7 separate regions of the Homo sapiens genome follow, and all the other regions are linked to region 3. The links are contacts of gene promoters, found by promoter capture Hi-C in blood cells and fetal thymus (Javierre and others, 2016). All regions are on one chromosome and are shown on one strand. The core of a region is centred on a gene start or on the middle of the fragment in contact, and the rest is flanking DNA. Distances in the headings are between cores, read along the strand shown. Region 1 holds the start of NAP1L2 (nucleosome assembly protein 1 like 2). Region 2 holds the start of SNX12 (sorting nexin 12). Region 3 holds the start of PIN4 (peptidylprolyl cis/trans isomerase, NIMA-interacting 4). Region 4 holds the start of CXorf65 (chromosome X open reading frame 65). Region 5 holds the start of CHIC1 (cysteine rich hydrophobic domain 1). Region 6 holds the start of LOC105373244 (a long non-coding RNA gene). Region 7 overlaps JPX (JPX transcript, XIST activator).

The links. The method cuts DNA at HindIII sites, captures the fragments that hold promoters and counts their contacts. A CHiCAGO score of 5 or more calls a contact.
Region 1: a contact is called between a fragment that was not itself captured here and the fragment with the promoter of PIN4 in region 3, in 1 of 17 cell types (naive CD8 T cells). The highest score is 6.6, in naive CD8 T cells.
Region 2: a contact is called between the fragment with the promoter of SNX12 here and the fragment with the promoter of PIN4 in region 3, in 2 of 17 cell types (non-activated CD4 T cells and total CD8 T cells). The highest score is 5.6, in non-activated CD4 T cells.
Region 4: the fragment with the promoter of CXorf65 here is called in contact with the fragment with the promoter of PIN4 in region 3 in 1 of 17 cell types (total CD8 T cells); the score reaches 5.4 in total CD8 T cells.
Region 5: a contact is called between the fragment with the promoter of CHIC1 here and the fragment with the promoter of PIN4 in region 3, in 4 of 17 cell types (fetal thymus, total B cells, naive CD8 T cells and 1 more). The highest score is 12.5, in fetal thymus.
Region 6: a fragment that was not itself captured here is called in contact with the fragment with the promoter of PIN4 in region 3 in 2 of 17 cell types (fetal thymus and total B cells); the score reaches 6.9 in fetal thymus.
Region 7: a fragment that was not itself captured here is called in contact with the fragment with the promoter of PIN4 in region 3 in 2 of 17 cell types (total B cells and monocytes); the score reaches 7.5 in total B cells.

The regions. Positions count from the first base shown.
Region 1 is chrX:73,211,732-73,215,810 of GRCh38, reverse strand. NAP1L2 (nucleosome assembly protein 1 like 2) reads left to right here and starts at 960. Exons shown (of 1, transcript NM_021963.4): 1 at 960-3,512. The coding sequence starts at 1,319. The coding sequence ends at 2,701. The HindIII fragment of the contact is 474 bases long and covers 1,672-2,145 here.
Region 2 is chrX:71,065,673-71,069,725 of GRCh38, reverse strand. SNX12 (sorting nexin 12) reads left to right here and starts at 1,392. Exons shown (of 4, transcript NM_013346.4): 1 at 1,392-1,584. The coding sequence starts at 1,420. RefSeq lists silencers at 1,177-1,396, 1,236-1,429. The HindIII fragment of the contact is 9,631 bases long and covers 1-4,053 here.
Region 3 is chrX:72,179,653-72,183,280 of GRCh38, reverse strand. PIN4 (peptidylprolyl cis/trans isomerase, NIMA-interacting 4) reads right to left here and starts at 1,524. Exons shown (of 4, transcript NM_006223.4): 1 at 1,453-1,524. The coding sequence starts at 1,495. RefSeq lists an enhancer at 1,265-1,484. The HindIII fragment of the contact is 4,711 bases long and covers 1,506-3,628 here.
Region 4 is chrX:71,104,289-71,108,009 of GRCh38, reverse strand. It overlaps CXorf65 (chromosome X open reading frame 65), which reads left to right and starts at 1,270. Exons shown (of 6, transcript NM_001025265.3): 1 at 1,270-1,478; 2 at 1,584-1,670; 3 at 1,873-2,010; 4 at 3,173-3,241; 5 at 3,606-3,712. The coding sequence starts at 1,454. IL2RG (interleukin 2 receptor subunit gamma) reads left to right here. Exons shown (of 8, transcript NM_000206.3): 8 at 89-606. The coding sequence ends at 274. The HindIII fragment of the contact is 6,290 bases long and covers 1-3,721 here.
Region 5 is chrX:73,560,973-73,564,944 of GRCh38, reverse strand. CHIC1 (cysteine rich hydrophobic domain 1) reads right to left here and starts at 1,748. Exons shown (of 6, transcript NM_001039840.4): 1 at 1,365-1,748. The coding sequence starts at 1,660. It also overlaps the pseudogene MAP2K4P1. RefSeq lists a silencer at 1,769-1,828. The HindIII fragment of the contact is 6,151 bases long and covers 654-3,972 here.
Region 6 is chrX:70,432,905-70,436,802 of GRCh38, reverse strand. It overlaps GDPD2 (glycerophosphodiester phosphodiesterase domain containing 2), which reads right to left. Exons shown (of 16, transcript NM_017711.4): 15 at 3,863-3,891; 16 at 3,422-3,769. The coding sequence ends at 3,717. LOC105373244 (a long non-coding RNA gene) reads left to right here and starts at 1,510. Exons shown (of 3, transcript NR_171576.1): 1 at 1,510-2,124; 2 at 2,555-2,948. RefSeq lists enhancers at 904-1,404, 1,392-1,471, 1,492-1,591, 2,452-2,561 and a silencer at 2,052-2,301. The HindIII fragment of the contact is 2,778 bases long and covers 1,131-3,898 here.
Region 7 is chrX:73,947,418-73,951,344 of GRCh38, reverse strand. The region is part of intron 2 of JPX (JPX transcript, XIST activator); the gene reads right to left. Among named protein-coding and RNA genes, the nearest start is that of JPX, 5.1 kb to the right of the region's middle. The HindIII fragment of the contact is 9,783 bases long and covers 1-3,927 here.

The DNA.
Region 1 (4,079 bases), core at 659-3,158, 1.0 Mb before region 3:
GAGAGGAAATTTTAATTACTGCAAAGCTTTCCATCCTATAAATACATTATCAAATAGTTTAACCATTTCTTTAATGCTGAGATTTAGATTATTTCCAATTAACTCAAAAGCATCAAGCAAATGTTATGATTTCTAAGAATAAACATAACTTTCCATTTTGGCTTTTGTATATATGTATATTTCTAACGGCTGTTAAAGCCAGCATTAAGAAGGAGAAGCAGAAAGTCAGTATTGGGACTGGGGTTATTTATAAGCCAGGCAACTGGTTAATTGTGGTTAATTGTCTGGTATGTTTACTAGTCACGTAGTTGTATACACCATACTAGTTTTTCATCACAGGCCCTCATTCGCCCCCACTGCCATCGGACTTCCTCCTCCTCCCCTCACAGGAAATGTTTCGAGAATTTTTCAACCTAAAATCATATAGCTTGTGAAAAATACCGACAAACATAATATAGAATATTTAAATAACTGACACGCCACCTAAAGACCATCAGTGCTAATTCCTGGTGTTTTTAATCTTTGAAGCGTTTGTTTATCAGCTCTTCCACCATCCACCTCTCCCCTCCCCAGGTCCCCGATCTAAAATCAAAGAGATTGATTTAGGATGGGTGGGTGCCTTGTCTTCTCTCATTGTTCGACATTTTAGTTACGTTTTCTCTGAGCTCTCTGGAAAGCATAAAAGTATAATATCTGTTAAAAGTTGGATGAATGAACTAATGAACGCAATGGGATTCCAGAAAACTCTGCGGGAGATGGGCTAGAGGACGAGGAGGAGGTGGATGAATCAGCCATGTTAGAGAGCCTGGGAAGGTGAGCAGAGTTGAAAACTTGATAGATCTAATAATTTACTGGCTCTGGGTTTGTCAGTCACTACATTGCAGCAAATGAGATTAGAGCATAGTTGTGGGAGGGAAGGAGGTGACGCAGCAATCTATTTGCACCTAGAAATTTTAGGCAAGTGATAGCTGCGTAATCATACTGCGGCACCGTTTTTTTCTTGCAGCAGTAGCTGCTTGCGGAGGAGGTCTGCCCACTGCAGCTCTCTGCAGTCTCCGGCTCTCTCCTGCAGGATCGGTCAACGCAGCCGTCGCCGCCCTCTGCACCCAGCCCAGGTCGCCACTGCTTCAGTCCGGTTCTCAAAGCCTCAGCACCATCTTTTATCCCCGAGCAGCCTGGATCGTCGTTCCCTCAGTCCGGACGCCACTGCTAGGTCCGACCACCGCCGCTTCTGATATTTCGGTGAGTCTTTTCCTGTGGAGGTTTGGTCTCCCGATCTCTGTGGTAGCCACCTTAGGCGTGTACGGTCCTTTGAAAAATGGCCGAGTCAGAGAACCGCAAGGAGCTGTCAGAATCCAGTCAAGAAGAGGCTGGTAATCAGATAATGGTGGAAGGGCTCGGGGAACATCTGGAGCGCGGTGAAGATGCCGCTGCTGGGCTTGGAGACGATGGGAAGTGCGGTGAAGAAGCTGCCGCTGGGCTTGGGGAAGAAGGGGAAAACGGTGAAGATACTGCTGCTGGGTCCGGGGAAGATGGGAAAAAAGGTGGCGATACTGATGAGGACTCAGAGGCAGACCGTCCAAAAGGACTTATCGGTTATGTTTTAGATACAGACTTTGTTGAAAGTCTACCTGTGAAAGTTAAGTACCGTGTGTTAGCCCTTAAAAAGCTTCAAACTAGAGCGGCCAATTTAGAATCCAAATTCCTGAGGGAATTTCATGACATTGAAAGAAAGTTTGCTGAAATGTACCAACCCTTACTGGAAAAAAGACGTCAGATCATCAATGCAATCTATGAACCTACAGAAGAGGAATGTGAATATAAATCAGACTCTGAGGACTGTGATGATGAGGAAATGTGTCATGAAGAGATGTATGGTAATGAGGAGGGTATGGTACATGAATATGTGGATGAGGACGATGGTTATGAGGACTATTATTATGATTATGCTGTGGAAGAGGAGGAGGAGGAGGAGGAGGAGGACGACATTGAGGCTACTGGAGAAGAGAATAAAGAAGAGGAGGATCCTAAGGGAATTCCTGATTTTTGGCTAACTGTTTTAAAAAACGTTGATACACTCACTCCTTTGATTAAGAAATATGATGAGCCTATTCTGAAGCTCCTGACAGATATTAAAGTTAAGCTTTCAGATCCTGGCGAGCCCCTCAGTTTCACACTAGAATTTCACTTCAAACCCAATGAATATTTCAAAAATGAGTTGTTGACAAAGACCTATGTGCTGAAGTCAAAGCTAGCATATTATGATCCCCATCCCTATAGGGGAACTGCGATTGAGTATTCCACAGGCTGTGAGATAGATTGGAATGAAGGAAAGAATGTCACTTTGAAAACCATCAAGAAGAAACAGAAACATCGGATCTGGGGAACAATCCGAACTGTAACTGAAGATTTTCCCAAGGATTCATTTTTCAATTTTTTCTCTCCTCATGGAATCACCTCAAATGGAAGGGATGGAAATGATGATTTTTTACTTGGTCACAATTTACGTACTTACATAATTCCAAGATCAGTATTATTTTTCTCAGGTGATGCACTGGAATCTCAGCAGGAGGGGGTAGTTAGAGAAGTTAATGATGCAATTTATGACAAAATTATTTATGATAATTGGATGGCTGCAATTGAGGAAGTTAAAGCTTGTTGCAAAAACCTTGAGGCATTAGTAGAAGACATTGATCGTTAGAGCAGAGTATACATGGCCCTGAAATTAACTGCCCTAGATATAGTTACTCAAGGTATAAGAAGCCTTGTGTTCTGTATTTTTCTTGTAGTGTTAGTTAAAACATATGTTTCAAAAATATAAGAAAAGTTCAAAAACTAATTAATTTGACCTTGAGTTTTAGTAGTAGAATGTTTTCAAGAAATGTACACTGTGGTAAATGATTTAAAACACTAGTATAGTGTTGTGTAGCTTAATCCTTCTGAAGTCTTTTTGTCATGTAGCTATTAATCTGTGGCTATGAAATGATCAGAAATGCTAAGTGAGATCAATATTTGTTTGGAAAAAAAATCTTGGGAAACAACCCAAGGGTTTTCGCTGTTGTTGTTTTTCTTTTTCTATTTTTGTTTACTTAGTCCTTTAGCTAGTGGATTTAATTTTGTTGTGCCTGCTTCATTTTGCAATAACAATGCAGTAGAATTTAAAACTTGGATGCTTAAGAGGCCTGCATATAGATAAGAATTTCAGGCAAAACTACATTTATTGTTAATAACAGCTTGTTCATAGGCTCTTGTATTTTATGTAACTGTGATAAATAATGAAACTTAGTTATATTGAGGTTATTGTTTGTCGGTGAAGTGTTAGTCACAGTATTTTCAAAAGTTTGCACATATTGTTCTGTGTAATTGTGTAAGCCATAATTACAGTGTTTAATTCTCTTTTCCTATTACATCATTCATTGAAAGTGATCACTTTACCATTTTGAAAAGATATTTCGTGTTCTTTCACTGCAAAATAAAAAGAATAAAAATTTCAGAGTGTCTCATGTTTAAAACTTAATGTATTTCTTGTTATAAAAGTAATATGTTCATTGGGGGACATTTGGGCAATACTGAAAAAATTCATTAATTAAACACAAAATCCATATACCACCCACCTACCCCAAAATAAGCACTGTTAATGTTTTGATTTATTTTCTACAATTATATTTCTATATGTTTATACACGCATGCAGATTTACTAAGACTATACTAAAATGTGCAAAGAAAGTATACCTTTCTTAGTGTTTATAATTGATCTGTTCATAATCTCAAGTCTACTTTCACTACACAAGGTTGCAGGGAAACAAAATTCTCAATTCTAATCAATCCAGTAATCTCAGTGCTATTTAATAATTTAAGCACCCTTTTGAAATAACAGGTTCCTGTGTGTTAGTTTGTATTTCATATTTCTTGCCTACCCTTCCACAGTGTCATCTGGATATATATGGGATTGCATTACTAATTGTGGCTGGGCTTGGAGTGCAGTGCCCTGATTCAGGAAAATGGGATGTGGTTGATCAGACCCTTGTCCCAGAGCTGACTTTGCCTTTCTTGCATGTGGAAACAGGCTTTGCTTCTCC
Region 2 (4,053 bases), core at 143-2,642, 1.1 Mb after region 3:
CAAGTGATCTGCCTGCCTCGGCCTCCCAAAGTGCTGGGATTACAGGTGTGAGCCACCGCGCCCGGCCTGCATATGCTGTTTCTTATTCCAGAAATTACCTTTCCCTATTTCCACTCCTATTTGTCCTTTATGTCTTTTCATGTCTGTTAAACTCAGATGTTTCCTCCTCCAGGGGAACCTCCCCTAATTTTTCCAGTTATACATTTCCTATGTGCTGCTTTGAACATTTACTTATTTTGTATTTGTCGCATTATATTAGTTTTGTTTACTTGTCTCCCTTGCTAGAATGTTAACTCCTTGAGGGCAGGGACTCTTATTTAACTCCAGGATTTTAGTGTTTAGCATGGTGCTTGGCACGTATTTGCTTAGTGGATATTGGTTAAATTGAATTAAACAGCAATTGTGAAATTGTAGGGCCTCATACTCTGTTGAAAGAATTTCAGGCATCAGTGATATGGGAAATATTTTTTGAGTAGAGGAGGGCAGGGGAAAGGTGGAGAAAGGATGACCTGAAATCATCACCCAGTCTACCCTTTAATGTGGAGCATATGTAAATTAGTCATATAAATATTAATATTTCTATAGATATTCTCATGTAAACATTTATTCTATCTCCATTATGGGTTGCAAGCAACCTCAGAGCAGTGCCAAGTATGGAGTTCTGCGGAGTAGAAATAGAAGGTATGAAATAAGTACCCTCAATTTGCTGATAAATGTAAGATTGAGTACACCTGGAGTGTGGCAACAAGGAGTAAGATATGCCCAATTTTCCTGAAAAGTAAGAGAGAAATGTCTTTCTTTACCCCATCCTAGTTGCTTGCTGCTTTCCTGGCGCCATACGTAGTGCTGAGTGCGCCATTGTGTGTGGCGTGAACTGAAACCATCAGTGGCACAGGTGGGACGGCTACGTTATAGGTTCTCAGTACTATTGTTGGAACCCCACCCTCCATAGACCACCCTTCTATTTTCGCGGAAAACCAGGACTTATTCAGGTCACTGGGCTTCGGCCTATCACTGTAGGAGCCTGGCTCACGGGGCAGTGCCCACTGTTGATTGATACACGGTACGAGACAATTTCTTGGGTTGAGGAGCCGCGATTGGCGGAGCCAGCCTGTGCTGCTAGGCAGGGTATTGGGTACTGCGTATTGGGGATGCAGGTTCCCGGGTGGCCACAAACATCACCCGGAAGCCTGAATATGGCCTCCACTCTACAGGGCGCGCAGCAGTCAGCACGGCCGCTATTCAGAGCCCGGGGCCCAGGCCCGTGCGGCGTGCGCGTGCGTGCGTGGGCGCGCGTGCGCGCCGCCGCCGCCTGTGGGTTGGCTAGTTATTTTGCAAGCGGGAGGGGCCGTGCGCGCTCCTGCCTCAGGCCTCTGTCCCCCACCCCCTTTCCCCGGTCCCAGGCTCTCCTTCGGAAAGATGTCGGACACGGCAGTAGCTGATACCCGGCGCCTTAACTCGAAGCCGCAGGACCTGACCGACGCTTACGGGCCGCCAAGTAACTTCCTGGAGATCGACATCTTTAATCCTCAGACGGTGGGCGTGGGACGCGCGCGCTTCACCACCTATGAGGTTCGCATGCGGGTGAGTCACGGGGTGAGGGAGACAGCTGAGGGAGGACCGGGCGGCGCGAGCGGGAGGGGGGAGGGAGGCTACCGCGGGGGCAACTAACGGCGGGGAAGACGCCTTAGGGGTCATTTGGGGGTTAGGGGTATAATAGGCTTGGAACGAGGTCTGCCGATTCAGTTGTGGCCGGAGGATGCAGAAAACTCCTGAGGGAGACATCGGACGGGGATGCAGGAAAGCTACCCATGAGGAAGTGAAGCATGGCTGGATAGGGTGGGGTGGATGGAAAAAGATTAGAGTGAGGAATTCAAGGAGATAGGAATCACGGCTGTAGCGACTGAAGGAAGGGAGGGAGGATGGAAGAGGGCTGGGGGATGGAAAGCCAAGGCGATATATCGCTGAGCTCCATAACTAAACTAGGTTGTGAGAAGTCTGAAGAGGGAGGGCAGGAAGGCCGGCTGCTTTCTAATGAGGTCTCCCTGGGATAATGGAGTAAAGCAAAGCCTTGAATTAAAGGGAAGGTAGATTCCAGAAAAGGCAGACAGTAGGCTTGTGGGAGCAGAAATAAGAAAGGGAGTCTCCTTGAGACCGAGCGCTTTCCTAACTTGTGTCGGATCAGCATCTGAAGGAGAGAAATGTTTTATGCTTAAGTTTTCGCAGATACTACGTGCTGTCTCGCCTTGAAACCTGGCCTGGCCCTGGGATTGGTGCCTTGTCAGTCACTGCTTTCATTCTATGTGGATCCTTTAGATTTGAAGTATCCAGAATGTTTATTTCAGTATTTATTGACTCTCGTTTAGGTACTTTGTATATGAATGGCTTTTTGCCCTTTCTGTCCTAGATTACCCTTTTGGATTCTGACCCTGGTCTGTAGTTACTTTAATACATGACATTTCAGAATTGCCCAGGAGTGGCTTCTTCCAGCATGCATGATAGAGGACTTTACTCTCTAGTGCTTAGCCCATAATGCAAGGATGGAATGTGCAGATAGAGTACTTGGTTTGCAGGATCTTTTGCCCACTTGAAGTGGTTATAGGCAAAACAGTTTGAGAATCATTTTCTAGTTTTCCTTATGTTTTCTTCTCAGACTAAAAGGCCAGAATATTCTCTGTGGACAGCATCCTGCTCAAACAGCATTGAAGAACTAAAAGAGTGTATGTGCTTTCATTGTTGAAGGAGTGAATTGAATGAGAAATTGTGGTCTCCTACTTGGGCTTTGAAATCTTATTGAGAAATTATGATTTCCAGATTCCAAGTTTGGCAAAGTCCAAACTGAAGAAAGAAAAGTGAATAGCAAAACATGAGAAACACTTGTCTATATAAGAACTATGTGAAATCATGTCTTTGGGGGAGAATGGAATTTAGGTCCTTCAGAATATGATAAAAGCAGGAAATTGTCAGTGCTGGAGAACTTAGTTACCTGAGGGAGCTTGGGCATGACTAGTACAGCATAAGGGCTGTCTGCTGTGGGGTTTTGGAGACATTCAATGCATTACCCAAGAGTCTTAGGGATTCTGAATGAAATCGCTCTTTACTCAGGGTATTCTTTTTTTTTTTTTTTTTTTTTTAAGAGATGGAGTCTCGTTCTATTGCCCAGGCTGCCGTGCAATGGTGCAATCTCGGCTCGCTGCAACCTCCGCCTCCTGGGTTCAAGCAATTCTCCTGCCTCATCCTCCCGAGTAGCTGGGATTACAGGCACATGCCACCATGCCTGGCTAATTTTTGTATTTTTAATAGAGACGGGGTTTCGCCATGTTGGCCAGGCTGGTCTTGAACTGCTGACCGCAAGTGATCCTCCTGCCTCGGCCTCCCAAAGGGCTGGGATTAGAGGCGTGAGCCACCACGCCTGGCCCTACTCCAGGTATTCTAATAGCAACAGGGACTGTTCATCTAGTGCCTACTGTGTACCAGGCACTGAACTAGGTTTTAATTTGTGTTAATCCTTACAGAACTTCGTTTTACACATGGGAAACTGAGGAGGAATGCAGTTTAAGTAACTTGCCCAAGTACACGTAACTATAACTGACAGGGCTGGAATTTGAACACAAATATGTCTGACTCCATATTCTTTCTGCTACACTTCTGTCTCCTTGACAACACTTAGTAGCAAAACTTTAGCATGCAAAATTTTTCTACTCACTAAACTTTTAATCGGTCCCTTCCACAATTTTTTTTTTTTTCGAGACAGAGTCTCGCTCTGTCACCCAGGCTGGAGTGCAGTGGCATGATCTCAGCTCACTGCAACCTATGCCTCCCAGGTTCAGGCGATTCTCCTGCCTCAGCCTCTGGAGTAGCTGGGACTACAGGCATAAGGCATGGTGCCACCACACCTGGCTAATTTTTTTTTTTTTTTTTGAGATAGAGTTTTGCTCTTGTAGCCCAGGCTGGAGTGCAGTGGCATGATCTCGGCTCACTGCAACCTCTGCCTCCCGGGTTCAAGTGATTCTTCTGCCTCAGCCTCCCAAGTAGCTGGGATTACAGGCATGT
Region 3 (3,628 bases), core at 275-2,774:
TCCTGACTACATCTCCACTGAGATGTCCCACAGACACCTCAAAGCCAATCTATCTGAAAGTGAATTCATCAATCTCATCCCCGCTCCTCATGTATCCTTGATGTTACCCTGCAGGACCAGCAACAGGTTAGAAATCCAATCCAGAAAACAGAATGATCGTTGATCCTCCCTCACCACCCCTCCCCAACCCAATAAATCACCAAGTCTTGACTATTTCACATCCTAATATTTACAGAATCTTTTCTCTTTTCTCAGTTCCCACAGCCACTCCCTTAGGTCAGTCCACCATCATCTCTCACCAAGACTACCACAACAATCTCCTTACAGGTCTTTCTGATCCTTAACTGTCCTTCTTAGCAGAATATATAGCACTCTCCATGATCTCGTCTTTGTTTCTGTTTTCATTCTCACCACTTGCCATTCTGCCTTGAGTTTTTGCTCCAGCAACACTACGCTGCACACATCATGCTGTTTCTCACCTCAGTGCTTTTGCTGCTGGACCCCAAGTAAGGAATGCTTTAACCTACCCTCAATGCACATCTTGACCTGCCTAATTCATCTCCAGGAAGTCTTCCGTTCCCTGTTCCCCAGCTAAATGAAGGACTTCCCTCAATTTCTATTATATCCCATACACATCCCTCAACACTACATTTAGTACAGTGCTTTATGATCACTAAGCCTTTATCTTCCTCACTACTTCGGGAGCTCCTTAAGGCCAAAATCTCTTTTTTTTTTTTGAGACAGAGGCTCGCTCTGTCGCCCAGGCTGGAGTGCAGTGGCGCGATCTCGGTTCATTGCAACCTCTGCCTCCCGAGTTCAAGCGATTCTCCTGCCTCAGCCTCCCGAGTAGCTGGGATTACGGGCGCGCACCACCACCACGCCTGGCGAATTTTTGTATTTTTAGTAGAGACGGGGTTTCGCCATGTTGGCCAAGCTGGTCTCGAACTCCTGACCTCGTGATCCATCCTCCCTCGGCCTCCCAAAGTGCTGGGATTATAGGCGTGAGCCACCGCGCCCAGCCTTCTGTCTTATTTGTGTATCCTCAGCGCTTAGCACTCTGCCTGACACATTTCTGTTCAATGGATGAATGATTCCTTCCCCGATGGTGGGCATGTCATTCTGTAAGCATTAAAGTGAACTTTAAGGACCATAACCAATGTGTACTTCCTATTGCTGGCTTTTGATAAGACCCAATTTTAGAGCTCTAATAACCCCTTGAAATAGCAGCCCTAAGTCATCGCCTCCGAGGAACTATCCCCATCAGATTCCATTACCCACTAGGACGGTCCCTGAACCGTAGCCCAATGTATTCCTACAGATGTAATCGATGGCAGCACTGTGGGGCCACTGGCTACCTGCTGCGTCCGTCCCGGACTCCGGAGATGGACTGTCTGTTCCCTCCCTTCGCTCCTCACCCGCCCCCATTCTCCTTGATCGCTCTGGCCGCTCTACCTTTCCCCGCTTTTCCAGAACCACTTTTTCCTTTGGGCGGCATCTTGGAAGCTTGTTGTTGAACGCTGAACCGCTCCAGTTGCCGTACAAGCCCCTTTAGAAGCCCCGCCATGGGCATGTCCTAAACAAATGCCTGAAAGCCGCATCTCAATTGACCGTTCTTATTGCGGCTCCGGAAGCAGGCACAGCTTGGGGCAGACCCCGTCCTTTGGCTCTTGGACCAATGGGGCTGAAGATGTCTGACCAATAAGACGCTTGGGCCGAAACAAAGGCAGAGGGGCGGAGACAAAGGCCGGATTAGGGCGGGAAGCCTGGCCTCTGCGCTTTTTGTGACTTCTTTCACGCACCCTAATTTGCACCAGATCCCCCACTCCCCACACTCTACGCCCGAAGCTCCCCCGTTCCCCTCAACCTGGCTTTTTTCACGCGTGCGCAGTAGGAGCCACGGGGGTGGGTGGCTCTGCAGTCCCTCGGCGCCAGCTCTGGCCAATCCCGCGGGGCCGCCAGACAAAGGGAAGCAGGAGTACTGTGGTGGCGGCCAACTTCCGCTGTCTCCTCCTACACACAGGGCTGCCCTCCCTGGCAGTTTTTCGTTTGTTAATTTTATTCTGCAGTTGTAGCTAATTAGGTTCAAAAGGTAGTTTTTAAAAAAGCCTGTCACCTTTTTGCGTCTTGCAGAGCTCAGTCATGGAGAAACATTGGAAGCAGTCTGAGTGCTCCTCAGTCGGGTACTGCTTAAATAATGTTTTAGCCACACAAGAAGATATTATACAACATTCAAAATAACGATTGTAAGGCTGTGTGTACAGATAGGGGAAATGTTTTTAAGACCAAGATAAAGAATATGATTCCTTGTAAAAGAAGTATATGTAATGTATTGTATGTTATATGAATATAAAGGAGAGGAAAGCTATAGAGCAAGATGTGGCCAGTGGTGCTAGTGCATACAGGTCATCGTGTTTGTTTCTGTGTATTTTCCAAAATTTCCATAATGGTGCAGCATAGTGTAGTAAAAGCATGGATTCTGGAGCCAGATTGCCCAGTTTCAAATCCCTGCTCCACATCTGTCTACTAGCTCCATGACCTTGAGGAAGTTACTTCACCTCTCTTTGGCTCAGTTTCATCATCTGTGAAATGGAGTTGATGATAATAGTACCTACTATTATCCTATCAGGTGTTAAGAGAATTAAACAAGTTCATATCTGTAAAGCACATAAAATGATGGCTTGCTCATATTAATAATGTTTGCCTAAGATAAATGATTTTTGAATTTGTGCCCACACACTTTTTCTCCCCTTACAATCCCTCCCACCATCAATAATTTGTATATGATATGTCAGGGCGTTTCCTCCAGTCCATGAGAGAGCTGTCCTAGCTTGCCACTACCAGCCAGAATATAGAGGTCTTCCAGCTCAGAGTTTAGTTTTTGGATGCAGCCTTGCTGGACCTGGAGATGCTTCATGCTCATACCAGGGAATCAGGTGTTTCTGAGACTGTGCTCATTCCCTACTCAAGACATAACATGGAGCCCTCTTATGTTTGGCTGCTTTAAATTCTGGACACATTTTGGGCACTCCTTGTTTTCGGATTGGGAGTGATCAACTGCGGAGGACACATCTAGTGGTGAGGGGATCATTGCTCTGCCACTTCTGAAGTGGATCCCGCACCTGTACTAATTCTCCAAGTTCGGCTGCGAGATGGAGGGGCGGGGGAGTTGGGATTGGGTGTTGACGATGACAGCGTAGCCTTGTGTTCATCAGGTTATCTATGGCCAAGAGGCCCAAGAGGAACATTTACTTTTGATTTTTCTTTCTTTTTTTTTTTTTTTTATTTTTTATTTTTTATTTTTTTTTTTTATTGATCATTCTTGGGTGTTTCTCGCAGAGGGGGATTTGGCAGGGTCATAGGACAATAGTGGAGGGAAGGTCAGCAGATAAACAAGTGAACAAAGGTCTCTGGTTTTCCTAGGCAGAGGACCCTGCGGCCTTCCGCAGTGTTTGTGTCCCTGGGTACTTAAGATTAGGGAGTGGTGATGACTCTTAACGAGCATGCTGCCTTCAAGCATCTGTTTAACAAAGCACATCTTGCACCGCCCTTAATCCATTTAACCCTGAGTGGACACAGCACATGTTTCAGAGAGCACAGGGTTGGGGATAAGGTCACAGATCAACAGGAT
Region 4 (3,721 bases), core at 21-2,520, 1.1 Mb after region 3:
AGACATCATGAGTACTCCTTTGGCACAGAGCTCGGTCTTTTACTTCCTGCCCCTAATTGACCCCTGACCTGGACATATCTGTCTTTAGGCCTGGAGTGGTGTGTCTAAGGGACTGGCTGAGAGTCTGCAGCCAGACTACAGTGAACGACTCTGCCTCGTCAGTGAGATTCCCCCAAAAGGAGGGGCCCTTGGGGAGGGGCCTGGGGCCTCCCCATGCAACCAGCATAGCCCCTACTGGGCCCCCCCATGTTACACCCTAAAGCCTGAAACCTGAACCCCAATCCTCTGACAGAAGAACCCCAGGGTCCTGTAGCCCTAAGTGGTACTAACTTTCCTTCATTCAACCCACCTGCGTCTCATACTCACCTCACCCCACTGTGGCTGATTTGGAATTTTGTGCCCCCATGTAAGCACCCCTTCATTTGGCATTCCCCACTTGAGAATTACCCTTTTGCCCCGAACATGTTTTTCTTCTCCCTCAGTCTGGCCCTTCCTTTTCGCAGGATTCTTCCTCCCTCCCTCTTTCCCTCCCTTCCTCTTTCCATCTACCCTCCGATTGTTCCTGAACCGATGAGAAATAAAGTTTCTGTTGATAATCATCAAAAATGTCTGTCATGGGGGTGGGGAGCAGGGGAAGCCTGGGATGCAATGAGGGTGGGAGGGGAAGAAAAAGGAGTAGTACATTCATGCTGTGGAGGCAGGAGTATTACCAATTTGCTAGAAAGAGTACTGTTCTGGAAACTGACTTTTTTCCAGGTGCCCTGCACTCATTCCAGGGTTTAGTTTAGAGTTAGACTTACAATGGGCTGGGCGTGGTGGCTCACGCCTGTAATCCCAGCACTTTGGGAGGCCAAAGCGGGTGGATCACGAGGTCAGGAGATCGAGACCAGCCTGGCCAACATGGTGAAACCCCGTCTCTACTAAAAATACAAAAATTAGCCAGGCGTGATGGTGTGCTCCTGTAATTCCAGCTACTTGGGAGGCTGAGGCAGGAGAATCGCTTGAACCCAGGAGGTAGAGGATGCAGTGAGCCAAGATTGTGCCACTGCACTCCAGCCTGGGCGACAGAGGGAGACTCCATCTAAAAAAATAAAAAAAATAAAAAAAGTTAGACTTACCATGTTGTCCCCCCTTTCCAACTAATCTTTAACATACCCCACCCAAGTTTTTCTCTCCTTACCCTTACTCCACTTTTTGGCCACACCTGCCACTTCTGACCTCATAATCCCTTAACTGCAGTCTCAGGCCCCACCCCTGGGGATACTGGTTATCCACAACTATCAACAGCTCTCTCCTGCCTGTCCAGCCTGGGCATCCTCAGCCTATGAAATCCATCTGCCTCTCTAGTCCACCAACCCTATAGGCCTATTTGCCCCACACAAGGCCTCTAGAACACCCTCCTTCTGCATGACTCATCAGGGCACTTTGTGAAGAGTGAGGCGATCTTGAGGGCATGTTCATCTTCATCAAACATGGAGGTGAGGGGCAGCACAGAACTAGAGTCTGTGGATGGGGGTGGAGGGATCTGAGGGCAGTGGAGATCACAGAAATGGGCCCATGTGTCCCATCCTATCTCTTCTCAGATAATCAGCAGTTTCTGGTCAATACCAACTGTGCTGTCGTCGTGTTGCTGTATTACATCCGCAGTAAAGTAAAGTTGCCTAAAACAAGTGAGGAGCTTAGGGAGGGGACTAATGGCCAAAGGTCAGAAGGAGTTGGGTCATCTCTAACCCCCAAGCCCTCCTCCTGGCAAGAAGGGAGTTCCTCATATCCTTAGAGCTTCCTCCAACCCATTTTGTATAGGATCACTGGCCCCTTTTGCTCCCACTCTCTTTCCTTAGCTGCCCCAATTACCCTGTGATCTCCCTCCAGACACCATCGATTTGTGTGAACAAACGGGGAAAATGAAGATGCTTTTCCTGATGAAGCCCAATCATGCAGAGTATGCCAGCAAATACCTTACAGCTCGAAGCACCTACTACGTTTGTAAGGTGGAACGTGGGCCACCAGGTAGAGGCTCAGGAGTGTTCCCCAGAAATAGAATAAGGCCTTCAAGATAGATTATGAACCTTATCTTTAAAACAAGGCATCCAAGGCTGGGCATAGTGGCTCATGCTTGTAATCTCAGCACTTTGAGAGGCCAAGGCGGGAGAATCGATAGAGGGCAGGAGTTTGAGACCAGCCTGGGCAACATAACAAGAGCCTGCCTCCAAAACCAAAACCAAAACCAAAAACAACCAAAACCAAATTAAAACAAAAAACAGAACACCCTCAAACAACAGAACACCCTCAACCAGATCCAAATTGACCATCTCTAGTCAGCCTAAGGAAGGGTACTGCCTCTATAATAATAGGTTACCTCACACATACTCTCCCCTAGGTCCATACCTAAGGGGAAGAAATATCCACCAGCTCAAGGTAGGTTTTTTTTTTTTTTTTTTTGGGACAGAGTTTCGCTCTTGTTGTCCAGTTGTCCAGGCTGGAGTGCAATGGCGCGATCTCAGCTCACTGCAACCTCTGCCTCCCAGGTTCAAGCGATTCTCCTGTCTTAGCCTCCTGAGTAGCTGGGACTACAGGCACCCGCCACCAGGCCCAACTAATTTTTTAGTGCAGATGGGGTTTCACCATGTTGGCCAAGCTGGTCTTGAACTCCTGACCTCAGGTGATCCACCCACCTCAGCCTCCCAAAGTGCTGGGATTACAGGCGTGAGCCACTGTGCCCGGCAAGGTAGTCTTTATTTTTATTTATTTATTTATTTTATTTTTTGTGATGGAGTCTTGCTCTGTCACCCAGGCTGAAACAGTGGCATGATCTTGGCTCACTGCAACCTCTGCCTCCTGGGTTCAAGTGATTCTCCTGCCTCAGCCTCCGGAGTAGCTGGGATTACAGGCGCCCACCACCATGCCCAGCTAATTTTTTTTGTTTGTTTGTATTTTTGGTAGAGATGGGGTTTCACCAAATTGGCCAGGCTAGTCTCGAATTGGCCAGGCTAGTCTGGAACTCCTGACCTCAAGTGATCCGCCCACCTTGGCCTCCCAAAATGCTGGGATTACAGGCGTGAGCCACCGCATCTGGCGGGTAGTCTTTAGTGTTAGGTCCTGGAATCTTGGACTTCTGAAGGGTGGAGACTGGATGACAGGGGCTGGAGATAGCACATGGCTATGTTCACAGGAACCAGGCTGGAGAATGCTTACAGAGCTTTTGTGCCTCTCCTCAAGAATCCGGAGCCTTGGCTGCTTGGTAAGAAGTGAGATGGGGGAGGGAAGAACATGAAGGGTACAGTATATAGCTGTGTGATGGAGAATGTAGGGTGGGACTAGCGTGATATGGTAGGTCAGATGATAGGAGCCTAGGAAAAGGCGGGCAGGGTCCAGGTCCACTTTAGGAGGGACGTTTAGCTCACACCAGGTGGAATGTGCATGCGTTACTCCCCACTTCCCCCATTTCTTGGCCATCTTCTCCGTATATCTCCCTGTCACCATTCCATCATTTCCATCTTAGGCCAAGTGGGGCTCCAGCTGATGGTTTGAACAATGAATGGGAGCATCAGGAAGGGTAAGGTCTCTAGTTCTCAGAGGTGCAGGTGCCTTTTCCTTGTTCTTAGTTGCACTGCGCATACAATGTGATGCCCTGGAGAGGAGACGAATTCAGATGCTTAAAATGAAAGAAGCCAAGAAGGTCGTTATAATTGAACCCCCTGCGAGTGTCCCGGTAAGACTT
Region 5 (3,972 bases), core at 499-2,998, 1.4 Mb before region 3:
CACGCCTGTAGTCCCAGCTACTCAGGAGGCTGAGGCAGGAGAATTGCTTGAACCTGGGAGGCAGAGGCTGCAGTGAGCCAAGATTGCGCCACTGCACTCCAGCCTGGGCAAAAGAGTGAGACTCTGTCTCAAAAAAAAAAAAAAAAAAAAAAACTCAACATGTTAAAAATTGAAGCTAATATAAGGGAGGTAGCATATATATGATTTAATGTAACATGAACTCAATTGAAAGTCAAAGGGACTAGGTGAGCCATTATCAAAACCAGAGGCAGCATGACATAACAACAAAAGGCAACCTATTTTGAAAATGCAGTAAAAGATAGCATAGTTCAGAGGATGAACATGACACAGTACTCAAACTTCCAAATAGTTATGGTCCAAGCAAATAAAAATGAGGAAGCACTCTTTAAATCCCGGAGAATCATCAACATTTTTGCCTTGTAGCTGTTATGAAGTCCCTCCCCATTTTATTTTCTGAAATATTCAATTTTTCCTCAAGATTTCAATTTTTTAAAAAACCACCCTGGATAAATTTTAAAGAAATTATGCTCAGCTCCCAAAGTATTAATTTCCATATATATTTAATGCCTGTATATTTCATACTTGGGCATACAAAATCCCTTGGAGGTAAATTATCTCAGAACTGAAAAGCTTTAGAAACCATCTACTCCAAACCCTTCATTTTAGAGATGAAGAAATCAAGGCGCAGAAATGAGAAAAAGCAACCTGACCAAGGTCACAGGGCCAGTAAGAAGCAAAACCGGGACCAGCGTCTAAGAGCCCTGACTCAATCCATTTCTTTTTCTACTTTCCATAGCTGCCTCTCATCCTGAACCTCTAATCGAGTGATATATAAGGAAGGATTCGATAGGAAGAATGGATGGATGAATACGTGGGTGAATGAACATTCTATTATTATTCACAAAATATATCATGTTTCTGTTTTGAAGAATGCAAGCCTAGTTCTTGTCACATGTCACAGCAATTGCTGTTTCCCACAAAGTATCAATCTTGTCAGCAAAAAACCCTCTGGTACATCCTGCAGTTTAGAGACTGTTCACTTGCCAGCATACATACAAGAAAGGAGACTCACCCCTACTCCAATCGCTCTGGCTCCCAAACCCCTAACTTCCCTCTCCTATACTCACTCTTTACCTGGCATTGGTGCATCATATTTACATTCTCCTCACTTCCTTCACACGTATCCACCCATGGTTTCCCCATTTAGACCAGGTGTCCTTTCCTAAGTGTACGCCTCAGTCAATCAGTCAACCCTCCCCCACTCCACAGGCCCCTCGATCACTTCTCATTCCTCTGTTGCCAAATCTCAGGCATTTCAAGTCCCAAGACCCCCTCTCGCTTACACAGTGATGTGGCCGGCACCCCGCACTAATACAGGGTCGGGAGCATATCTCCGCAGATGCTCCTCGCTCACTACCCGAGGCGGGGGCGGCGCTTCCTCCTCCTCTTCCTCCTCCTCCTCTTCTTCCTCCTCCTCCTCTTCCTCCTCTTCCTCCTCATCCTCCTCGTCATCGTCGGGCCCAGATACCGACGACGACGACGACGGCGACGACGACGACGTTGCCGCTTCTTCTTCCTCCTCCTCCTCCAGTTCCGAGATGGTGTCGAACTCCGCCATGTTGGGCAGCAGGATGCTCATCACGTGACCTCGCGATCGCCGCCACGCTCCCGGAGAAGAGTTTGAACCTGCCGAGGTGCTGCAAGAGGAGGGGGAACGAAATGAAGAGAAAGAGGAGGGGTGTAGGGACAGGATTTGAGGAGACGCGCCTGCGTGTTGGGCAGACGGGGGGGTGGGGGGGCGGCTGCTGGAGGCGGGGGCACTAGAGAGGAGCAAAGTCAGTGTACGCTTGCGCAGCTCCAAGGGGAGGGGGCCGCTAGAGGTGAACTCCAAGGAGTTATCCAGGTCCGGTCTGCGGGTGCTCGCCTTAATACTGCTCTCTGAGCGTCAGCTACTTGTATTCGGGGTATCTTCTGATTTTATTGCTTATTAATTAATGCTGGGCATTATTAACCCAACTGCAGGCGGGTGAGAGAAAGCATATTGTATAAAAGTAAGGTTAGAACTTTGTCCAAAATATCTCAAGGTATATACCAATCCCTTACGTTTGTTCAGCATTACAGTTTAAAAGCCTTGCGTCATAACTTTGCCACAATCTTGGGAGGCAGGGTAAGCACTTTTATTAGCATTTTACTTAAGAGGAAACTTTTTACTACTTCTCCTATGTAATACTTAACGGAGGACTTATTAACTCAGGGACTGTGCTAAGTGCTCTGTATGTATATCTCATTTAATCCTCTGCAACCCTATGAGGTATGTATCATGATGATTTTATATTACAGATGGGAAATCTAGGTGCAGAGAAAATAAGTAATTTGTCCAGTGTCAGGGAGCTACTAAATGGGAGACCTGGTTTTAAATTTGGTGGTCTCTTCTGATTCCAGAAGCCCAGTACTCTTAACCAAAGGGCTGTACTGCCTGAAGTTGTTTGGAAAGATTTTGTAGAATGGTGCCTCTTGGGCTCTTCCTTAAAAGATGAATCAGAATATGCATGTTTGAATTTTGGAGTGTTTTTTGGGGGAGGGGGCGGATGGAGGGGGTGAAAGGAGCATTCCAACCTAAGGAAACCTTAATTAACATCATCCATTTTCCAGACACTGAGCTAGACCCTCACATACAATATTTCAGTTAACCCTTAATCCTGAGAGGTAAGTATCATTATATCTATTTTATTACATGACAAAAGTGGGTCTCAGAAGTTTAAGTAATTTATTCAAGTCTATGGTGACCTTTTGTTCAAAATTTTCCATTTTAAATGGTCTATCCTATCTTCTTTACACTCACTAAAATGTTGTGGGGATCACATATTTTGCGTATCTAAATAGTGTGCCAAACTGTTTCATACTTGGCAGCAGCACAAAAATCCATATCATTAAGACAGTAAAGTCACACAGCTGCTAAGTAACAGAACAAACACTGTAATCCAGGCATTCTAATACCAGCTTCACTGCTCTTTCTGCTACTCTACGGCTGCATCCCAATCAGATGGTGTGTCTCTGGGGAAACAGACATAGTCAAACTTTAATTTAGGATGAGCACGACATTATCAGTATAAACAAAGCATTTAATGTGTGTGAAGTAGGAAGAAATTAGTTCTGTAAGAGAAATGAATCAAACCATTATCATCAAGGAGTATGTGTTATTAAAATGAAAAGCCCATTTTTATTCAAAAGTTGGTTTATTTAGGGAACTTTAAAAATAAGTCGGAGATCGAGACCATCCTGGCTAACAAGGTGAAACCCCGTCTCTACTAAAAATACAAAAAAAATTAGCCGGGCGCGGTGGCGGGCGCCTGTAGTCCCAGCTACTCGGGAGGCTGAGGCAGGAGAATGGCGTGAACCCGGGAAGCGGAGCTTGCAGTGAGCCGAGATTGCGCCACTGCAGTCCGCAGTCCCGCCTGGGCGACAGAGCGAGACTCCGTCTCAAAAAAAAAAAAAAAAAAGTCATAACATTATCAATAAGCAACAAATTATAACTTTTTGTAGTTTAGATAACTGTATCTACTAGCCAGGAATTATAGAAGATAGAACCTTAAAATATTTTGTATAGCCTTCTGGCAAGACATATATATCTTTGCTTTTTTGGGGTGTTAATAAATGTGTCAGAGTTAAGATCAAAATTAATACTTTGCAACAGTTCTTCTCTTTCAAGAGGCAAAAAAAAAAAACTGTAAATGACATTTAAAATTTTTCCAAATATCTTATCCACGAAGGTCCACTAAGTCTGTGTCTAGAGGGAAAAGTATTTCACTGACTACTGCTTAAATGGTAGTTTCTCCTCACACTCAAGATTAGGCTAGGAAAGGCTATTTGAAGTACAGGAAGGGAAAGGAGTAGGGGGTGGACTTTGTAATGAGTGCAAGTAAGATATTGGAACTATGGTAAAAGTGGAGA
Region 6 (3,898 bases), core at 1,270-3,769, 1.7 Mb after region 3:
TCTTCATTTTTAATGATTGTGAGCAAAATCCCTTCAGACTCATAGTGGGCTTCTCCTCATTCCATAGGCTCCCTGCCGCTCAGACCGGACTGGGTTGACAAGGCTGGGAGGAGGTCAGCCACACTGAGACACTGTGACACTTAACTAGGGAACCTCCCTCCCAACTGCTAGGGCTCCAGCCTGAGACCCCAGGGAGACAGTCGCCCCCTACGGACCAAAAGCGCCCCACACCGCTGCAAGCAGCTCTGGTTGCTAGGCAACCAGGCGATGGAGGACTTCAGGAACGGATTTTCAAGCAGAGAGACCATTTATCTCCCCTTCCACCGCCACTCCGGCTCCTTCAGCAAGTAGACGGGGTTGGGACCGCGCGGTCTGCTGCTGTCTGTCTGATAAGCTGGGCTCATTCTTGAAAATAGAGCTTCACTGAGTGACCTCCATATTGTGCGTGGTGAAACGATCACTCTTGCCCCAAATGTGGTTTCATCTGGGGGCTGGAGACTCGGGTCGATGAAGGTGGAAGTTTCTGATTTGCAAGGAGGGGAGGAGCATTGTTGTGGGTGTGCACCCTTAGTCAATGGGAATTCTAGAAAATTGAGCTTGCGTGGGAATAATTTTGATCAGTCCATCAAGATTTCCTCACGATTCCCAATGTATACATTAGGAAACTCTTACGTTAGCCCATTAAAATAAAAAGGTCAATGGGAATGACAATATATAAAGGATCATTCATACCTCATTGGGGACAAGCAGTGGCTTTCATGAATACGGTTTCTCTCCAGACAAGGGAGAGATCATGAGGTCTGTAAATCCCTGTGAGTTGGGACAGAGCTCAACAAAATGGAAAGAAATAAAAAGAATGGCGGGGTTGGGGGTGTGATAAGCACAGAATCTGGCAGCTTCTGAGCTCTGTGTCTGGTTTGGGGATCCCCAGCTCTGTGCCCCCTGTGTTAGGACCATGCTGAAGCACTCCATCCTTATGAAGGCTGTGGGGGACCAGAAATCCATAGCTTTTCCTTCTAGTAACCTAGCATTCTGGCCCAGGAGTGGGTCCAGGCAGGCCAAGGCCATGACCAAAACAATCTTTCCACTTGGGACGCATCTCTGCCTTCTCGGCTAGTACAACAGAAGCTTGATTGTGGCAGAGCCCCAAGCCATGGCGAGCTTAGGGGAGAGCTGTGCCCAGGAGTCTCCTCGTGGGGTTTCCCTCAAGAGTTCCAAGGTAGAGATACCAGGGTGAGGTAACTAGCATCCAGACAGCATCTGGCCCAGCCACTGCTCAGTCCACATCTCCACAGGGCATAGTGGCAGGGGACGCTTCTTGCTCTCTGTGTTTCCAAACTGAACTGGGTCGGGGCTGTGCTCCTGCTCTATTAATAGCCCCCTAGCCCAGCCTGCTAGCCCCAAACCCGGATGCCAGGAGCTGTGAGTCAGCAGCTAAAAATAACGAAGAGCAACTACATCCGAACCCCAATGAGCAGCTCCCCCGGGTCCTCCGCCCTTAAGTTTTTGTCAGTGTCAGTCTCCAGCCCAGGGCCCAGGGCCTATAGGTTAAACCGCTTTAGCTGTCCAGTTCTCCTGGGAAGAGAGTGAGGATTTCCGGTGGCAGGCTCAAGGCTGCGTACCCAAGGCTAGGGGCTAGGAGAAAGGGGTCAGAGGCTGGCGCTGGGTTGGGGGGCCAGACGCTGGGTTTAGAGGGCCGCAGCTGAGAGTGTGAGAGCTGAGAGGTTGGGGCTGCAGGGATGGAGTTGCTGGAGGTCTTCAGGGTGAGGTTGGGAGGTGAGGGGAGGAAGAGACTGGGCGATTGGGAAGGGACAGAAAAGTAGGGATGGGGGAGGAGGTACGTGCTGAGAGGTGACAGCCCGGCAGTACCGGGCAGACTGGGGGCCCTAGAGCTAAGGCTGGTAGCCAGCCTGAAAGAGAGGGGATGGATCGGGAACCAGGAAAAGTAAGGAAATGCTGCTCGAAAAGGCAGAGTGTAGGAGAGACCTGCCCGGTACACAGCGGCGTGGACTCCCAGGAAGACCAGGACCAGGACCGGATTGCGGCGTTCGCTCTCCGCGCGCCTCCAGCCTCCCCGTGCGTCGCATGCTGGCACCCCCGCCCACCGCGCCAGCTGCAGGTCAGGTACGTGGGCGCGGCCGGCCTCCGGAGCCGGAGTGTGCAGGGATGCGCACGGAGAGGGCGGGGCGGCCAGAAAGGAAAGGGGTGGGCCCGGGAGAAGGGGGCGGGAACACGGATTCAAACTCGCCTGCGTCCAGCCAGATACCGGAAATGGCCGGGGACTCACTGGGAATTGTAGTTCCCGCGGCTGCCCGGCAACCGAGGGTGGGGGGCGGGTCTTGTCCCGAGGATGCCAGTGCTGCCCCAGGTCCCAGTCTGGCGAGAGAGGAGGAACCGAGAACCCGACCTCCCTACCTGGCCGACTCCTTAGTTCTACTTCCCTCCGTGTGGAGATACGAACTAGGTCGAATGTGGGTGTGGCGGAAGACTGTGGGGTCACCACAGAGCCCCTCTTGTCCCCATTTTTGGCTTAGCCCCTCCCTTCTTCTACTAGACTCTTCATCCTCCGTCAGCTCCGCACTGGCCACCTTAGCTGCGGAGCCCAGGGACTCCCGAGCCGCAAACACATTGGGGAACTTGCTCCTCCAAGGGAAGGCTGGGCCGGAAATTGGACCCTGCGCGCAGCCCAGAGGAGCGAAAACTTGTGGAAATCGGACCTTGCCCTCGGAGTCCTGAGTCAAGGACACGAGTCCCCAAGCGGCACGGAAAACAGGTGGCATTCAGCAAATACGTCACGGCGACGACGGATGCGGCCCTCCTCTTGGGGCGGCCACAAGGTGGAGCTACAGTGCAACCCTGCACCGCGCGCCCGGCCTCCGGACGCCCCCGAGGTGGCTGCTCTCCTGCGGGCCTCCCGCGAGCCTCCCGCGAGTCCTTCATTGCCGCAGGTGATTCTCCTCCCACCTCCAACCCACCTCCTCCCATCTCCCCCTGATGGCCCCTCAAGGTCGTGTCCCATCCAACCGTAGATGGAAGGTGCCTCCTTTCCCCAGCCCCTGGGCCGAAAAGATTAGGCTGTGACCAAATGGAGATTACATTCGTTGAGTAACAGATTAAGACAAGATACAGGAACCAACCTGCCTTGAAGAAAAGGCTGCGCACAGCAAAAAGCCACCTGTAAGCACAGAATTACACGGCTAGACGGGCTCTTCAGCTCCTAGCCTCTAGGCAGGAAAACAGCTAAGCTGCAAGGGTCGAGGAAGACAGTACATCGTGGAGTGGCGATGGTGTCTCTATCATCTTACAGTTCTCCGGAAAAGACCATTTCGTTATCTCCTTCAGTCCCTCTTCCAAGCTATCCCACCCCGACACACCCTGTGCCTTCTATGCAAGAACACGTGCACACAAGTCTGAGACATTATCCGAGCAATCTCCCTTTTACTTCCTCTGTTCTAGTTTCATTTGAGGAGAAACTTCTCATTACTCACTCTCTTCCCAAACATCTCAGGTCAAAACCCCAAAGGGAGCAGATTCCATAGCAGCTTAGGGAATGCCCATCACCTGGGCAGAGGGCCCTCATGGTTCAAAACCTCCTGTTGGCAAAGCTCCCCCCACTTGCAACCCACCACCCCTGAAGCATTCCACTTAAGCCACTCTCCAACCCTTGCTGTTTGGGCAATGTAGACTGGCTTGGGTGGGGAAGCAGGGCAGGGCATTCACTCCATCATGAAATTGTTGATCCTTGTCAGCAGCACTGCTGTTTCTAAGCCTGGGGAGGAGGGGGAGGGTGGGTCATCTAGGGAGTTAAGCAAGGGGAAAGCTACAGGAGGAGAAACATGAGGTGAGGGGAGAAAGTTCTTACCAGTTTTCCCTCTCTTCTTAACAAATCTTCTGTGGG
Region 7 (3,927 bases), core at 561-3,060, 1.8 Mb before region 3:
TCAGGAGTTCCAGACCAGCCTGACCAACATGGTAAAACCCCGTCTCTACTAAAAATACAAAAAAAATTAGCCGGGCATGGTGGCGTGTGCCTGTAATCCCAGCTACTCGGGAGGCTGAGGCAGAAGAATCGCTTGAACCTGGGAGGCGGAGGTCGCAGTGAGCCGAGATCGTGCCACTGCACTCCAGCCTGGGTGAGAATCCGTCTCAAAAAAAAAACCCAAAAAAAAAAATTTTATTTAAATGCATGTAAATACATTCATCAACTGATGAACAAAAGGTGGTACATTCATATATAGATTATTCAATCATAAAAAGGAATTAAGTACAAATTATATGCTACAGTATGGATGAATGTTGAAGATGTTATGCTAAATGAAAGAAGTCAGACACAAGAGATCACATATTACAGTTGACCCCTGAACATGGTTTTGAACTGCGTGGGTCCACTTTTATGTATTTTTTTTCAGTAAAAGTTACACCAGGTATGTCTGCCTCTCCTGCCTCCTCCATCTTTTCCACCTCTACCACTCCCTAGACAGCAAGACCAACCCCTCCTCTTCCTCAGCCTACTCAACATGAAGACAAAAAGGATGAAGACCTTCATGATGATCCACTTACATTTAATGAATCGTAAATATACTCTCTCTTCCTTCTGATTTTTAATAACATTTTCTTCTCTAGCTAATTGCAAGAATATAGTAGATAATAAATTACCATAGAAAGTATGTGTTAATTGACTATGTTATTGGTAAGGCTTCCAGTCAACAGTAGGCTATTAGTTAAGTTTTGGTGGAATTAAAAATTTTATGCAGATTTGACTGTATGAGGGGTTGGTGACCCTAACCCCCCCATTCCTCAAGGGTCTACTATATATGATCCCACTTGTATACAATATTCAGAACAGGCAAATCCATAAACAGAAAGCAAATTAGTAGCCATGGGATAGAGGGCAAAGGGAATGAGTACAGGGTTTCTTTTAGAAGTGATTAAAATCTGTTGGAACTAGACAGCAGTGATGGATGCACAACACTGTGAATGTATGAAATGCCACTAAATTGTATACTTTAAAATGGCTAAAACACTAATGTGTATTGTGCCACAATTAAGTAAAAAAATACTATAAAGTGAAAAGAAAAGTAGCTAACTGAAAAAAATATCTGCAGGCCGGGTGCAGTGGCTCATGCCTGTAATCCCACCACTTTCGGAGGCCAAGGCGGGCGGATCAAAAGGTCAAGAGATCGAGACCATCCTGGCCAACATGGTAAAACCCCATCTCTACTAAAAATACAAAAATTAGCTGGGCATGGTGCCACACGCCTGTAGTCCCAGCTACGCGGGAGGCTGAGGCAGGAGAATCGCTTGAACCTGGGAGGCGGAGGTTGCAGTGAGCCAAGATCGTGCCACTGCACTCCAGCCTGGCGACAGAGCAAGACTCCATCTCAAAAAAAAAAAAAGTCTGCAATATTATAACAAAAAAAGGCGAATTTCCTTAATTTATGAAGAGTGTCTACAATAAGAAAAAGTCCAAACACCAATTTTTTTTTTACAGGACCAAGAATATTAACAAATAGTTCACCCAAAAAAAATACCTTTCAAATGGATAAAAAAAAAAAGTTCAAATATCTTTAACACTGACATTCTCCGTTTCCCCTTCAATTTTCTCACAACTGGCATTCTTATCTCTTTCACTGGATAGGGGAGAGTTTTTAATGCTCAGTTTTAGATCCCCTGGTTTGCTTTCCTGATACTGGAAATGCTGCCATGGTATAGCTGGCAGAGTGAATGGACCAACATTCACAAATTATTTTCCCTATATGTAAACTAATCACTAACGGTACAGTTGGCATGACCCCAACTCGTGTTTTGTGAAGTTCAACAAGCCAATTTCATAAAACAAACAAAAGAAGGGGTTATAGGGAACTGCTCTAAATTTTAAAAGGCTCAAAAGACATAAAAATCAAATGCAATGTGTGGTCTCCGAATAGATCCTGGTTTGAAGAAAGCAGCTATAAAAGACATCCTGCGGACAACTGGGAAAATCTGAATATGCACTGGGTGTTAAACATTAAGGAATGGCCGGGCGCGGTGGCTCACGCCTGTAATCCCAGCACTTTGGGAGGCCGAGGCAGACGGATCACCTGAGATTAGGAGTTCCAGACCAGCCTGGCTAACATGGTGAAACCCCATCTCTACCAAAAATACAAAAATTAGCCGGGCATGGTGGCAGGCCCCTGTAATCCCAGCTACTCGGGAGGCTGAGGCAGGAGAATCACTTGAACCCGGGAGGTCGAGGTTGCAGTGAGCCGAGATCACACCATTGCACTCCAGCCTGGGTGACAAGAGCAAGACTTCATCTCAAAAACAAAAAAAAAATTACGGAATTACTGTTAATCCTACTATGTATAGTGATGGCATTGTGACTATATAGAAAAAGGTCCTTGTTTATTATATGTTTATATTGACTTATTTAGAAGAAAATGTCATGATAACTGTAATTTACTTTACAGTATTTTGGGGGAAAAGGCAAGTAAGGCAAAATCATAACGGTTGCTAAATCTAAGTGATCCATATATGGAAATTCATTTATGTTATTCTCTCTACTTTCATGTGAATGTCTAAAATTTTTCCCAACAGATAATAAATCACTAACCTATTAATTCATTTCTCACCAACTAAACATGCACCCCATTAAGCAAATAATTATTCTAGAAAGAACATTTGTGAATATACAATATAGAAATTAATATTATTCATTATTTTGAAACATCCTTTAAGGAGCTTTTATACTTTTTTTTTTTTTTGAGACGAAGTCTTGCTCTTGTCACCAGGATTGTAGGCACAAGGCAGCATTTATACTTTCTTAGGTTATGTTTCAGAAAACATGCTTCCCGGCCGGGCGCGGTGGCTCAAGCCTGTAATCCCAGCACTTTGGGAGGCCGAGGCGGGCAGATCACGAGGTCAGGAGGTCGAGACCATCCTGGCTAACACGGTAAAACCCCGTCTCTACTAAAAATACAAAAAAATTAGCTGGGCATGGTGGCAGGCGCCTGTAGTCCCAGCTACTTGGGAGGCTGAGGCAGGAGAATGGCGTGAACCTGGGAGGCGGAGCTTACAGTGAACCAAGATCGTGCCACTGCACTCCAGCCTGGGCGACAGAGCGAGACTCCATCTCAAAAAAAAAAAAGAAAAGAAAAGAAAATACGCTTCCCGATTATCTTTGAGTTATGCATTTCGACCAGTATGCTACTTCACATAATTATTTACTTATTAGCACCCTTTAAATGTCCACTCTGTTCTGGTTCTGCTGCTTCACTTTCCCTAACCCCCAATCAGCCCATATCAATCTCTTCATTGCTAAAACAGTACAACATCAACAGCACTGGAACACAGTATCTAGCTACGTAAGAAAACTTACATTTACCCTGCTGCAAAATATGGAGAGGAATCCATAAGAGCTAAGTTTCTTTTCTGTCCAGTGTGTATGGCATTAACTAATCACCATTTTCCTTTTTTCTTTTAAGTTAATGTGTCAAACATAGAAATAACCTGAAGTACTATGAATTATTTTTAAAAAGTTATGTTGATAATTATTTTACCTGGAAAGTATTAGTTTGCTTTTAAATGTTATTCAAAGATATACTCCACAAGTATAATTTTATTATACCTCAAGAATATTTTATAAGAACTCATCTTAATTTTATAATTATTAACCTCTTAAATCTGTGTAAGACATTCTATTTAATGCAACTCCTTATAAAAATCATATCCCACAAATTATCTTTAACGACAAAAATCTAAGTCTAGCTTGTCAAGTTTTTCTCTGTAACATATTCTCTTAACAATTTGTATCCTTGATTACTAATAGTCAGTTCCTGCAAATGAACCAATCAATAATCAATTAAAAAAACCTAAAAAAATTAAATGAT